5 separate regions of the Homo sapiens genome follow, and all the other regions are linked to region 3. The links are contacts of gene promoters, found by promoter capture Hi-C in blood cells and fetal thymus (Javierre and others, 2016). All regions are on one chromosome and are shown on one strand. The core of a region is centred on a gene start or on the middle of the fragment in contact, and the rest is flanking DNA. Distances in the headings are between cores, read along the strand shown.

Region 1 (2,700 bases), core at 10-2,509, 590 kb after region 3:
CTAACAAGTGGATCATAGGAACAAATTAGCCAATGAAAATACATCCCTTTCTCTCTGATGTAGCTTTTTGGAGGAGGTGGATTAGTGAGCAGTGGGTCCCTGTTGGATGAGGGGTTAGGGAAGGGATGGCCTGAGCTCTAAACATAGGAAGGGCTTCCATGCATATCCTACATGTCTGGATGATGGATTGAGACTTGACTCTGCCATTTTTTGGCTTCCTCCTGAAGATGATAGTCAGTAGCAGTCAAAGTCATGGTTCAAGAAGGGTCACTAACATAGCACTTTCCTCTAGACACACCTCTCCTTAGAAAAACACCCAAAACAGAGTATTCTTCTTTGGAGTCAACAGTGGGAGAGTATGAACAAATAGAATAGATACTCCCTGCACACAAGGTATGGGCTCACAACAAGAGCTAGCCAGCTGGTGACAGCACTTTCTCTGTGGCCCACTGCTCCTCTAAAATAGGCCTGTTTCTGTATAAGAACCTGGTGAATTATTGAGAGGGAATTGGGATAAGTTGTTCTGCCCTCCACCCCTTTCCTCAGGGTACAGCTGGAATTGAGGTAAGTACATAATATCTAAGTTTAGGCCTATATTAGAATAATGAGGGAAATGGACACTTTGGGCCACTTAATGAGGTAAATGGACATTGAATGAGGTAAAAGAACATAGTACTGGCATTGAGGGACATAAATTCTAGCAACCAAACTGGGAGACTTCTCTCTCATCCAAGCATCCCAAACAAAAATGAGAAAAGTTCAATAGCAGTGCTATAAGGGAAAACCTCCGCAATTCCTTCTTGATCCCATTTGATATATATTTGAATTATTGACATAATGAATGTAAGGGAAGGGGATGCATTTGATGCACACTGTCATAGGCACTGAGTTGGGCACTGTAGTAAGATCTTTTTATGTGTTATCTTATTAATTCTTTAATTATTGGACTTATTTTATAGATCAGAAATATTAGCTTTAGAAAAGACTGGCCAGGCGCAGTGGCTCACTCCTGTAATCCCAGCACTTTTGGGAGGCTGAGGTGGGTGGACTGCATGAGCCTAGGAGTTTGAGACCAGCCTGGGTAACAGGGCGAAACCTCATCTCTAGTAAAAATACAAAAATTAGCCAGGCATGGTGGTGCACACCTCCAGTCCCAGCTACTTGGGAGGTGAAGGTGGGAGGATCACCTGAGCCTGAGAGGTCGAGGCTACAGTGAGCTGAGATCATCAGGCTGCTGCACTCCAGCCTGGGAGGCAGAGCAATCCTGTCTTAAAAAAAAAAAGATTAAGTAAATACCGATGACAACAAGCCAGTAAGTGGCAGAGCTGAAATTGGAATCTAGGATTCTTTGAACACAAAGGTCTTCATTTGGATTAGACCTCAACTATATATTTTTTCCTTTTTATTGTGGTAAAATACACATAACATACAGTTTACCATCTTAACCATCATTAAGCATACTACAGTTCAGTGGTATTAATACATTTACGTAGTTGTGCAACCATCACCACCATCCATCTCCAGATCCCTTTTCACCTGGTAAAACTGAAACTCTACACCCATTGAACAATAACTTCATTCCCTAGTCCCCCAGACCCTGGCAACTACCATTCTACTTTCTGTTTCTATGAATTTGACTACTCTAAGTAACTCTGGCAGAATCATACAGATTTGTCATTTTGTGGCAAGCGCATTTCACTTAGCATAATGTCCTCAAGGTTCATCTGTGTTGTAGCATATGTCAGAATTTCCTTCCTGTTTAAGACTACATAATATTCCATTGTATGTAGATGCATCGTGTGCATCTACAACCTCTGTATCTGTGGATTTCACATCTGTGGGTTCAACCAACTGAGATTGAAAATATTCAGGGGGAACTATAGATGTTTGCATCTGGACTGAACATATACAGATGTTTTTTCTTGCCATAATTCCCTAAACAATACAGTATAACAACTATTTACATATCATTTACATTGTATTAGGTATTATAAGTAATCTAGAATGATTTAAAATATATGGGAGGATTGGATAGATTATGTGAAAATACTACACCATTTTATATAAGGGACTTGAGGATCTGTGAATTTTGGTATCTGTGAGGGGTCTGGTAACCAATCCCCCATGGATACCAAGGGATGACTGTATCACATTTTGCTTATCCATTCATCTGTCATGAACAGTTGGGTTGCTTCCATGTTTTAGCTATTGTGAATAATGCTGCTATAAACATTGGTATACATGGGAGACCCTTTTGATTCTTTTGAGTATGTACCTAGCGGTGGAATTGCTAGATCATATGGTAATTCTATTTTTAGCTTTTGATGAACTACCATACTGTTTTCCACAGCAGCTGCACCATTTTACATTTCTACCAACAGTGCACAGAGTTCTAATTTCCCCATATTTTTGCCAACACTTTTTTTTTTTAATGGTGGCCATCCTAATGGATGTGAGGTGGAATCTCACTGTGGTTATGACTTGCATTTCCCAAGTAATTTTTGATGTTGAGCATCTTTTCATGTGTTTGTGACCATTTGTATATCTTCTATGGAGAAAAGTATATTAAAGGCTTTTTCCAATTTTTTGAATTTTTTTAATTGTTGAATTTTAGGAGTTCTTTTATATTCAGGGTATTAATCCCTTATCAGATGTATAACTTGACAATATTTTCTCCCATTGTGTGGGTTGACTTTTTAC
Region 2 (2,700 bases), core at 171-2,670, 570 kb after region 3:
TCCTCTAGAGAAAGACAGTAATAGCTAACCAAAAATGAGAAAAAATTCCACCAGAAAAGTTCAGAAAAAAACTGGAGAAAACAAGTTTTGACTAAATGCTTAAAGCAGTAATACCTTCTGCCAAAGCCAAACTCTAGTTTAAAAAAATTTCTGATAATAAATGTTAATCTAGTTATTACCTAAATTCTCTTCAGTGTATGACTGACTGACCATTATGCTATTAAGCTACATTACTTACTTTCACTGCAGGGCTCTCATGTGAAATGGAGCTGTGTATATTGAAATTTCTTTCTCCAAAAACAGAGCGCTGGACAGAAAGGCCTACAGATCCCTCCTACAATACCAACAAAAACAAGGAAAATAAGGATTATATCTGTAACACTTTCTGCCAGCTGTACTCTGCCATAGTTTTGAAAGAGTTAAGTGAGATGAAACAAAAACAGCTGCATCCAAGTCATTCTCAGGCACCAAACCACTTCTGTGAAAGGAGAAAATAGTCTAGACAGAACTCAACACCCATACAATGTTATCATAGTCCACAAATATATATAACTAAAAAAAAATTCAAAAACCACCTGCATGGATGTTACATTTTGCTGTGCAGCTAAAATGGAGATAGACACTTCAGAATTCCTCCCCTATAACTAATGCTTTCTTTTAAAAAGGATAATTAATCTGAACTTTTTAACATGCAGGGAAAATTTAATATTTTCCATTTTTGTCATAAAATATGATTTCATAATAGTTAATGACAGATGTTATAAACTGACAAAGTAAATTTTAGTTTTAAAATAGTAACCAAAATGATTCAGTACAAATCTTAGTGAAAATTTAATCAAATGAATACATATAACAAATGCAAAAAAAAGTTTTTTAAATTATAAGTACTATCCTAGTATTCTATCTCCCTCTGTTGGTTGAAGGAGTATATTTCTAAAACAGTGTCGGTACTTAAGAAATAAAAGAGATAGAACCTTTCCGTCTTTTCCTTGTTTAATCTGAATTTGTGCATTTGTGTAGGGTCTTTTAACAGAAGCTTTTGTGGTGGACTGCTGATCCAGCTCCTTAGGTACTGGGCCACTCAGTGGAATCTTGTTTCCTGTGATTATGTGGGATTTGTTTTGTGAACACCTTTCCTGCTGAGCTTCAGACTGGACAAATTTAAGAAGCTCTATTTTCGTATCATGGGTTCCTTGGGCCAAACCAAAGTCTACCAAGGCATACCTAAGAGACAAAATTAAGCATTTTTACTTATCTGTAGCAATTAAAGCTTAGTAACATTGTAATACTCTCAAACCATCCTCATAAAAACTGTAATTCTTTTTGGGATCAATTAGGAATTTATAACATTCTGGAAAAAAGAAAAAAAAATAAGTTTTCCAGACAAAGTAAGAATTTAACAGCTAACCAGGATTGAAAATTAAGAGTTGTCCCACAATCAAATTTTCTTTTTCCAGTGGTCTGTGTTAATAAGGCAGAAGAGGAATACATAACATAAACACAGTCCGTTGTTCTCTGATGGTGGCAGAGATGGCATCATAGCAGATAATTTCTAGTTAAGAAAGCTTAAAAAAATTAAAATCATGGTTTTAAAATCTGATCCAATTAAAGAAAATTAAAAAGTCAGGCATATAAAAGCTCAAAAAAGAAGTTATAATATTATTATGTTTAATATGATCCATTATATAGAGGTATTTATGTTATTTTTAGCTTATAATTTCTCTATAATTATAATCAGCATTAAAAAGTATACATAAAAATAAAACTTTTGTGTTAAAACAGGAAATTGGCTATCATGTGGTCCAATCCCCTCACTTACTAGAAAAGAAAAATGAAGTCCAGAGATAAGAGACATGTCTAAGGTCAAAAATTATTAGACTCTAAGTCTGTTAGTTCATGCTATTTCCACTGAACCATAGTACATCTAATAATGTACATTATTCCACTAATACAATTTTATCTTCTTCATCACCAAATTTCCCTTTCCAATCACAAAGAAACTGAAACAGAAATAATCTGTGCATGGCTATTGCAGTATGTTATATTATATCTAAGAGATATAAGTCAGAGGATACAAAGTAGCAGATATGTAGGATAAATAAATCTAGACCTAATGCACACTCTGAAGATTACAGGTAATAAAACTGTACTGTATATGAGATTCATACTAAATGAGTAAATTTTAGCTGCTCTTGCCGTAAAAACAAAAATAAGATGGGTAACTGAGATAAATATTTGCTTCACAATAGTAACTTTTGTACTATATATAACATCATGTTCAATACCTTAAATATAGACAATAAAATTGTTTTTTAAAAGAAATAGGATAAATATTTTCTAGTAACTCTTCATACTTACTTTTTCAGGCGCCTATTATATAAAAAATTGCTGGGCTTAACATCACGGTGAACAATACCAAACTGATGAATGCGTTTCAAAGCTTTGAACAGATTAAGCATATATTCCCGTACTTCTTGAAAGGAAAGAGAATTCAGAATGTCCTAAAACAAAGTTACAAATGAAATGAGTTACAAATATTGTTTGCAATTAAATATTTAGCTAATAAAAATTCAAGAAATATTAAAACCTACCAAAAACGACTCATGCTCCAGATATGGCATAGCAATAACTACATGATCATTCTTCCTAAAGCAGTATTTAACTCCCATGACATTATCTTGCCCCCTAGTGGAAAAATGC
Region 3 (2,700 bases), core at 48-2,547:
AGATCGCGCCACGGCGCTCCAGCCTGGGCGACAGAGCGAGACTCCGTCTCCAAAAAAAAAAAAGTAGAATGCTGCACAACTTTTAATTATTAGTAATTATGTTTACCTCAGTGGTTCTCATAGTCACCCTAGCCAGCAGCATTAGCATCACTTGGGGCCTTGTTAGAAATGGAAAATTTCAGTGATGCCCACCCAAGTTTAAGAATCAATGTCTTGCTGGAAATGTAAATTAGCTAGGTCATATTTCTAAGCTTCAATTTCTTTGTAAGCTGAAATTACTTTAGCTGGATTCCCAATAACCCGAGAAGGATATCCATGAGGCTTACAAAGGTTAAATGTCAGGAAGACCCTCCATTTGCTTTGGTCCTCACAGGAGCTGAGAGTTGCTGGGAGCTACAGAGAGCTCTAGGTGGAGAGAGGAATCCAGGTCGCAATCAGGAAGCATTTCTGGTAAATTGTTTAAAGAGACCTCAGAAGAGACCTCCAAGACTATAGTATTGTTCTTTCCTCATTTCAAATAATCGTTTTCCTAATTTTATTATTTTTCTTAAAATAGTATAAGCTTATTTTAAAAATTGTGTAAGTTTCAGGACCTGGATCCACCCGACCTTAGTGATTGGAAACAACTAAGCGTGCCTGTGTTGAGATATTTCTAGCAAACTAGTGCTGCACACGACTAAGCTTTTTTTGTTTTCCTTTTGAATCTGGTACATGGTGTCGAGGTGCTCGGGATTGTTTATTCAGGGCGAGCGAAGCCACTTTTCGGAATAGTGGGGAGACTGGCTAACGACCCGCAGTCGCCTGAGGCGAGGAGAACCAAGTGCTGAGGGAGGGGGAGGCAGAGCCGAAAGAAGCCTCAGCTTCGGGGCGGAGGTGGGCGATTTAGGAACTGAAGCAGCCAGAGTTCCCGCCTCCTCCTACCTGAGCAAATCCTGGCTGAGCTGCTCCGACACCGTCGCCTTCAGCCGGCGCCGCTCACACGGCCCCTTCCTTTGCAACCCCTTACTGCAAACTCCAGCGGACCCCAGAAGTACCATGGGGGCCGCACTGCCTTCCCCACAGCGAGCCATGTCTCACAGAGGTACGACGCCCTGGAGGCCCAGTACTTGGCCTCACTTGCCCCGCCCAGGAGGAAGAAGGGGGCGTTTCCGACCGAACGCTCGGCTCCTACCCAAATCCGCCCCCTAGGGTAAAAGGTTGACGCCTCTCGTCGGTTTGTAGACAGTCTCCCAGAGAAGCCGGACCGCGGTGGGGAGCCTCAGAATCCCAGAACCGAGCCGGCTCTTGACCCAGGAAGAGCGTGCGCAGGCGTACTCGCTCTGTTTACTTCTGCCGGCGGGCACCCCGCCTCCCATGGCTCAGGCGCGGACCATCCCGCGGGGCAAACCAATCCTCAGGCTCCTTATCCCCTCCCCTCTTCTTTCCCTTCCGGTTGGTGTTCATTCATTTCAATGTTTTACTGAGGCTCGAGTTCAAATCAGCACATGCAGCCTTTCTATGCTGTGTCTTCCTGACAGGTCTACACTTTTTTCCAACGAAAGACTGGGCGAGTCACACCCCCTCACTTACCTGGCTTCTTAACCCTGAGGTATAAATGTTTGGGGCAAGAAAAATTGGCGATGGGAGGAGTAGGGGAAGAACTTCATAAACTGCCAGTCAGAACAATTCTGAGTTCAATATAAGAGATACTTACAGCATCTAGAAGGCCCCATCCCCTTCTTATCCAAGGAGTGGCTCATACAAGCTTTTGGACTTGATCGGAGAAAGCACAGGGCTTTGCATATAAAGCCCTAACATTTATGACCAAGAAGGGAGAAATAGGTAAGGGGCAAAGTCTTTGAGCAGTGAAGTGATGGATGGATGAAATATAGAATTCTCTTTTGTCCCAAATAAAGTAGCAAACTGATTATCATTTAAGGTTTTGGTATTTTTTATTTGATTACTGCCTCCAAAATAAGGAAACTCAGTAGTTCCGCTTCGGGCCGGGCAAGTCCCATCTACTTGGGAAGCGAGGCGGAATGATGGCTTGAGCCCGGGAGGTCGAGGCTGCAGTGAGCCATGATTGCACCACTGCACTCCAGCCTGAACAGCACAGCAAGACCCTGTCTCAAAAAAAAAAAAAAAAAAAAAAATCTGTTTCATTCACAAACTCTACACACAAGGTGAAGAATAGTAATTGCTTGGAAAATACATTGGCCAGGTTGCGGTGGCTCACACCTGTAATCCCAGCACTTTGGGAAGCCAAGGCGGGAGGATCACTTGAGCCCAGGAATTAGAGACCAGCCTGGGCAACATAAGGAGACCCTGTCTCTACCAAACAAAAAAAAAAAAAAAGGAGGCGGGGAGGGGAATATATGGACTTTGTATTTGTACCATAAGATTGGCCAAGAGGTAACCATTTCTTCAGATAATGCCCCCTCTCAAATATTCAGACATCTTAATTCTGAAAAATATAACTGGATAATTGATTTTTTAAAATTAATTCCCAAATGCTTGGATGGATAATTGATTCTTAATTATTCCTGTAGAAACGAGGGGTGTCAAAGATAACATAATAGTAGCTTATATTTGAATCCTTATTATGTGATAAACGCTACTCTATTTGCTCTGTGTGTTTTAACTCAGTTAATCCTTACAACAACCATTTAGCTAGGTACTGTCTTCAGACCTATTTACAGATGAGGAAGCTGAGGCATACAA
Region 4 (2,700 bases), core at 1-2,500, 570 kb before region 3:
TGTGTCTCCATGTTCATTTGTTTCAAAAAAGTTTTAGATTTCTATTTTAATTTTGTTGCTGACCCAAAGATGATTTGGGAGCAGGTGAATTTTTATGTATTTGTATAGTTTTGAGAGTTCTTCTTGGAATCAGTTTCTAGTTACATTCCACTGTGGTCCAAGAAGAGACTTGATATGATTTTGATTTTTGAAAATTTATTGAGACTTGTTTCATGGGCTAAAATATGGTCTGCCTTAGAGAACATTTCATGTGCTGATGAGAAGAATGTATATTCTGTGGTTGTTGAATAGAATGTCCTATAAATGTCTATTAGAGTCCAATTTATGTCCAGTATTTCTTTGTTGATTTCCTGTCTCAGTGATCTTTAATGCTGTCATTGGGGTGTTGAAGTCCTTCTCTATTATTGTTTTGCTGTCTCTTTTCTTAGATAGAGTAGTTTTTCTTTGGTTTTCTTTTCTTTTTCTTTTTATTTATTTTTGTTTCCAAGGCACTGTCTCAGGATGTCCTGAGAACATGTGCCCCAGTAGTAGTTGTCTTATGAATCTGGGTACCTCCTATATCGGGTACATATATATTTAGGATTGTTACATCTTCCCGTTGACTTTATCCCGTTATCATTTTAAAATGACCTTCCTTGTCTTTTTTCACTGTTGTTGATTTAAAGTCTGTTTTATCTGATACAAAGATAGCTACTCCTGCCTGCTTTTGGTTTCTGTTGGTGTGGGATATCATTTTCTACCCTTTTTCCTTCAGTCTGTATTAGGTGGGTTTCTTGTAAGCAGCATATTACTGGATCATCCTTTTTGTAAGACCTGTAAGTTTTATACTTTTGTCTGTTTTTATGATGTTGAGTATTGACCTTTTGTTTACATGTTTAGAACTCACTTGAACATTTCTTGTAAGGCTGGTCTAATGGTGATGAATTCTGTTAGCATTTGCTTGTCTGGGAAAGACTTTTTCTCCATTTATGAAGCTTGTTCTAGCAGGATAAAAAATTCATGGTTGACAGGTTTTTTTTTTTCTTTAATAAGTCTTAAAATGGGATTGTGATTTTTTTTCTGGCTTGTAAAGTTTCTGCCAGTATGTCCACTGTTAGTCTGAGGGGATTTCCTTTACTGATGATTAGACACCTTTCTCTTGCTGATTTTAGGATTTTTTTTTTTCCTTCATGTTGTCATTAGTCTGATGAGTATATGTGTTGGTGAAGTCCTTCTTGCACTGTATTTTCCTAGAGTTCTCTGAGCATCTTCTATTTGGATGTCTAAATCTCTAGCAAGAGTAGGGAGTTTTCCTCAATTACTTCCTCAGATAGGTTTTCCAAACTTTTTGCTTTTTCATCTCCCTCAGGAATACCTATGACTTGTAGGTTTAGACATTTTATATAACCCCTATACTTCTCAAAGGCTTTGTTCATTTTTGAAAATTATTTTTTCTTTATTTTCGTCTGACTGGACTAATTCAATAGACCTGTCTTTAAGCTCTGAGATTGTTTTTTCTGCTGGGTTTAGTCTACTGTTAAAGCTTTTACCTGTATTTTATAATTTCTTCAATGAATTTTTCATTTCCAGACTTGATTTTCAGATTTCTTGGTGTTGATTTTCATTCAGCTTTCTCTTAGATCTCATTGAGCTTCTTGGAAATCAGTATTTTTAATTCTTTATATGGTATTTCAGAGATTTCATTTTAGTTAGGATCTATTGCTAGAGATTTAGTGTGATCTTTTGAGAATGTCATAACACTGTCTTTATACTTCCAGAATTGTTTGGCTGTTTCCTTCTCATATGGAGAAACTTATCTTTTCTTCTTATTTTTGAATTTACTTTCATTTGGACAGGAATTTTTTTCCTCTGAAGGATATAACTACAATGTATGTTCTGGGTGCTTCCTTGGCAGAATGTATGAGTTCTTTGAATATAGATAGCCTTTGTGTGGTGGTTTTCTCAAATGCTAGTTGTAGTAGTAGTGTACTGGCTGTGTGAGTAGTATCACAGCTTCCTGCAGGGCTGGGATGGCGGAAGTCTCAAGAATCTTATCTCATTTCCCAGCACTGTGCACTTGTGTCAGCAGATTTTCTGTTGGGTTGTGCATTTCAGCCTCCAGGACAGTAGGTGGTGGTTGTGGGTAAGAGCCTGCTGCAACAGAAGCAGATGGACAGGTGCTTGATCTTTGTTTAATGGGGGAAGTTCTTTGTTGCTTCAGGCAATGGGCTGGGCTGTGGAATGTACAGTGGCTTGAGCTCTCTGCTCACCCCCTAGCAGGGGACAAGTCAGGGCAGAGATGGACAGCCAAGCCGGCCCTTGGATTCCCCAATGATGAGCACAAGCAGAAGACCTGAGTGGGGGTGGCAGGGAAGCTCCTGGTAAGTACACTGAGGTCTCTGCAGAGAGGCAGGGAGCCACCCCAGTTCCATAGCCCGGGCAGGCAGGAATGTAATCTCTCTCCCTGTCATGCCCCTGTCCCCAAACTCAGAACACTCAAATTGGTCAGACACCACTGTCTATCTCCAGGCTGCAATGTACCTGAGAGCCATAAAAGATGACTGCCCCTTGGCTTGCTGCCAGAATGTCTTTGTTTTGGAGTCTTCTTCCTCAGTCCAAAACACACAGCTTTTTGGCTCTCCTCTCCCTTGCAGGAACGCTGCTGCTCTGCATGGAGAGGGGGAGGGGGTCCCACCTTTTGCACAAGCTTAGATATGGTGG
Region 5 (2,700 bases), core at 127-2,626, 520 kb before region 3:
TACTTATACAAAACAAGAGTTAACTCTAAGACAGTCTCAGATCCTTCAGGAGGTTTTCCAGAAGGCATTGTTTTCATAGGAGATGACAGCTTCATGTGTGTTATTGTCCCTGAAGACCTTCCAGTGGGACAAGATGTGGAGGTTGAAGATAGTGATATTGGTGGTGCTGACCCTGTGTAGGCCTAAGCTAATATCTTAGTTTTTAACACAAATGTTTTAATTTTTTTTTTTTTTGAGGCAGGATCTCACTCTGTTGCCCAGACCGGAGTTTAGTGGCACAGTCATAGCTCACTGCAGACTCCAACTCCTGGCTCAAGCAGTCCTCATCAGCTTCCCGAGTACCTGGGACTACAGGCACACATGACCACACCCAGCTTATTTATTTATTTATTTATTTATTTAGTAGCAATGAGGTCTCCCTTTGCTGGCCAGGCTGGTTTCGAACTCCTGGGCTTAAGTGATCCGCCCACCTCTGCCTTCCACAGTGCTGGGATTACAAGCATGAGCCACTGCGCCCAGCCTTAATTTTTTTTTAACTTAAAAAATTTTTTGTTCATCAGGTGTAATGACTCATGCCTGTAATCTCAGCACTTTGGGAGGCTGAGGCAGGCAGATCTTGAGCCCAAGAGTTTGAAACCAACCTGACAAACAAAGTGAGACTCCCTCTCTACAAAAAATACAAAATAAAATTAGTTGGACCTGGTGGTGCACCTATAGTCCCAGTCGCGGTTACTTAGGAGGCTGAGGTGGGTGGGTTGCCTGAGCCTGGGAGGTCAAGGCTGCAGTAAGCCATGATCACAGCACTGCACTCCAGCCTGGGCCACAGAGTAAGACCCTGTTTCAAAAAATATATTTATTAAAAATTAAAATTAAAAATAGAAAAAAGCTTATAGAATAAAGATATAAAAAAAATTTTATACACCTGTACAATGTTTGCTAAGCTAAATGTTATAAAAGAGTCAAAAAGTTTAAAAAATTGGAAGTTTATAAATAAACTTACAGTAAGTTAATTTATTATTGAAAGAAAAACCATTTTTTATAATGTTATAGTATATTTACAAATTTTCTTCATTTTTAAAGCTGAATAATATTCCATTGTATGTATATACCACATTTTTTATCTGTTCATTCATTGATGGACATTTAGGGTGCTTCCATGTTTGAGCTATTGTGAATAATGCTGCTATGAATACAGGTGTACAAATTTCTGTTCAGGTCCCTGCTTTAACTTCTTTTGAGTACGTAGAAGTGGAATTGCTGGATCATATAGTAATTGTTTAATTTTTTTAAGAAATTGCCATACCATTTTCCACAGAACCTACACCATTTTACATTTCTACCAGCAATGCATGAGGATTTCATTTTTTCCGCATTTGCACCAACACTTGTTAATTTTCTGTTGTTGTTTTTATAAGTACCATCCTAATGGGTGTGAAGTGGTATCTCATTGTGGTTTTGATTTGCATTTCCCTAATGATGAGCTATGTTGGGCATACTTTCATGTGCTTATTTCGCATTTATATATCTTCTTTGGAGAAATGGCTATTCAGGTCCTTTGCTTAATTGAACCAGGTTGTTTGTTGTTTTTGTTGTTGAGTTATAGGAGTTATTTATATATTCTCAGTATCACTTTCTTATCATATATATGGTTTGCAAATATTTTCTCCCATTATGTTTGTTGCCTTTTCTTTGTTGATAGTGTTTTTATCACAAAAGTTTTTAATTTTGCTGAATCAACGTACCTGGGTTTTGTTTTGTTTTGTTTTTTTTGGTGGTGTTGACTGTGCTCCAAGTCCATTTTTTAGTGAAAATTTATCATATTTCTATATTATCAAAACTATCTTCAAAAGAAAATTCAAAGCTTTAAAAATAAATATGTTTTTACAGGGCACAGTAACTCATGCCTGTAATCCCAGTGCTTTGAGAGGCCAAGGTCAGGGGATTGCTGGAGGCCAGGAGTTCAAGACCGGCCTGGGCAATAGAATAAGACCCTGTCTCTACAAAACAATTTTTAAAAATTAGCTGAGGGCATGATAGTACACTCCTGTAGCTCTGGCTACTTGGAAGGCTAAGGTGGAATGATCCCTTGAGGCCAGAAGTAGGAGTTCCATATTACAAGGAGCTATGATCAAGCCACTGCACTCCAATCTGAGTGACAGAATGAGACCTTGTCTCAAAAAAAAATTTTTTTAATAAAAATAAATGTGTTTTGTCACTTCTTATGCCTTACTTCTTGTATAATATGATAAAAGTAGTAAGTTTTCCCTATGGACAAAATACTATGTTTAAAATCTTATGTCTTTCAAAGTCTTTAATTATATTGTACTCCAAGTCACAATAGTCTTTGCTGTAACATCTAGAATTTTCTTCCCACCTGAAATTTCCTTTTGTCTTTAAATTTCAATTTCAAATGTAATTAATTTCCAAACTTACATATTATATTATAACTTCATTTTTTGATCTGGATCAAAAGTAACCACAACACATTATGATTTGTATGTTTATAAAAAGGTATCCTTTATGTTCTGCTGGTAGTAGTCCCCATAAAGTGCACATATTCAGAAAAACCTCAGACATGAGCCAACTGCATAATATATTTGTAATCAGTTGTTTAAATCATGCTATCGTATGTGATTTTAGCATTAGTCTGTACTTTTCTAAACATCAAGAAAATCCTAAGAATTTGCCATATTTCTATAC

What was found. Contacts are between HindIII fragments. The CHiCAGO score rates a contact against its expected background, and 5 or more counts as called.
Region 1: a contact is called between a fragment that was not itself captured here and the fragment with the promoter of BTBD8 in region 3, in 1 of 17 cell types (non-activated CD4 T cells). The highest score is 5.2, in non-activated CD4 T cells.
Region 2: a fragment that was not itself captured here is called in contact with the fragment with the promoter of BTBD8 in region 3 in 1 of 17 cell types (total CD8 T cells); the score reaches 5.1 in total CD8 T cells.
Region 4: a fragment that was not itself captured here is called in contact with the fragment with the promoter of BTBD8 in region 3 in 1 of 17 cell types (erythroblasts); the score reaches 6.0 in erythroblasts.
Region 5: a fragment that was not itself captured here is called in contact with the fragment with the promoter of BTBD8 in region 3 in 1 of 17 cell types (naive CD4 T cells); the score reaches 6.8 in naive CD4 T cells.

The regions. Positions count from the first base shown.
Region 1 is chr1:91,492,069-91,494,768 of GRCh38, reverse strand. The region is part of intron 1 of LOC105378856 (a long non-coding RNA gene); the gene reads left to right. Among named protein-coding and RNA genes, the nearest start is that of CDC7, 7.4 kb to the left of the region's middle. The HindIII fragment of the contact is 3,032 bases long and covers 1-2,700 here.
Region 2 is chr1:91,511,582-91,514,281 of GRCh38, reverse strand. It overlaps CDC7 (cell division cycle 7), which reads right to left. Exons shown (of 12, transcript NM_003503.4): 5 at 2,592-2,685; 6 at 2,359-2,501; 7 at 975-1,224; 8 at 239-334. Among named protein-coding and RNA genes, the nearest start is that of CDC7, 12 kb to the right of the region's middle. The HindIII fragment of the contact is 295 bases long and covers 1,273-1,567 here.
Region 3 is chr1:92,078,942-92,081,641 of GRCh38, reverse strand. BTBD8 (BTB domain containing 8) reads right to left here and starts at 1,297. Exons shown (of 18, transcript NM_001376131.1): 1 at 922-1,297. The coding sequence starts at 1,070. RefSeq lists an enhancer at 1-24. The HindIII fragment of the contact is 1,063 bases long and covers 684-1,746 here.
Region 4 is chr1:92,653,663-92,656,362 of GRCh38, reverse strand. All of the region lies in intron 13 of EVI5 (ecotropic viral integration site 5), which reads left to right. Among named protein-coding and RNA genes, the nearest start is that of EVI5, 130 kb to the left of the region's middle. The HindIII fragment of the contact is 548 bases long and covers 977-1,524 here.
Region 5 is chr1:92,601,889-92,604,588 of GRCh38, reverse strand. All of the region lies in intron 18 of EVI5 (ecotropic viral integration site 5), which reads left to right. Among named protein-coding and RNA genes, the nearest start is that of GFI1, 120 kb to the right of the region's middle. The HindIII fragment of the contact is 975 bases long and covers 889-1,863 here.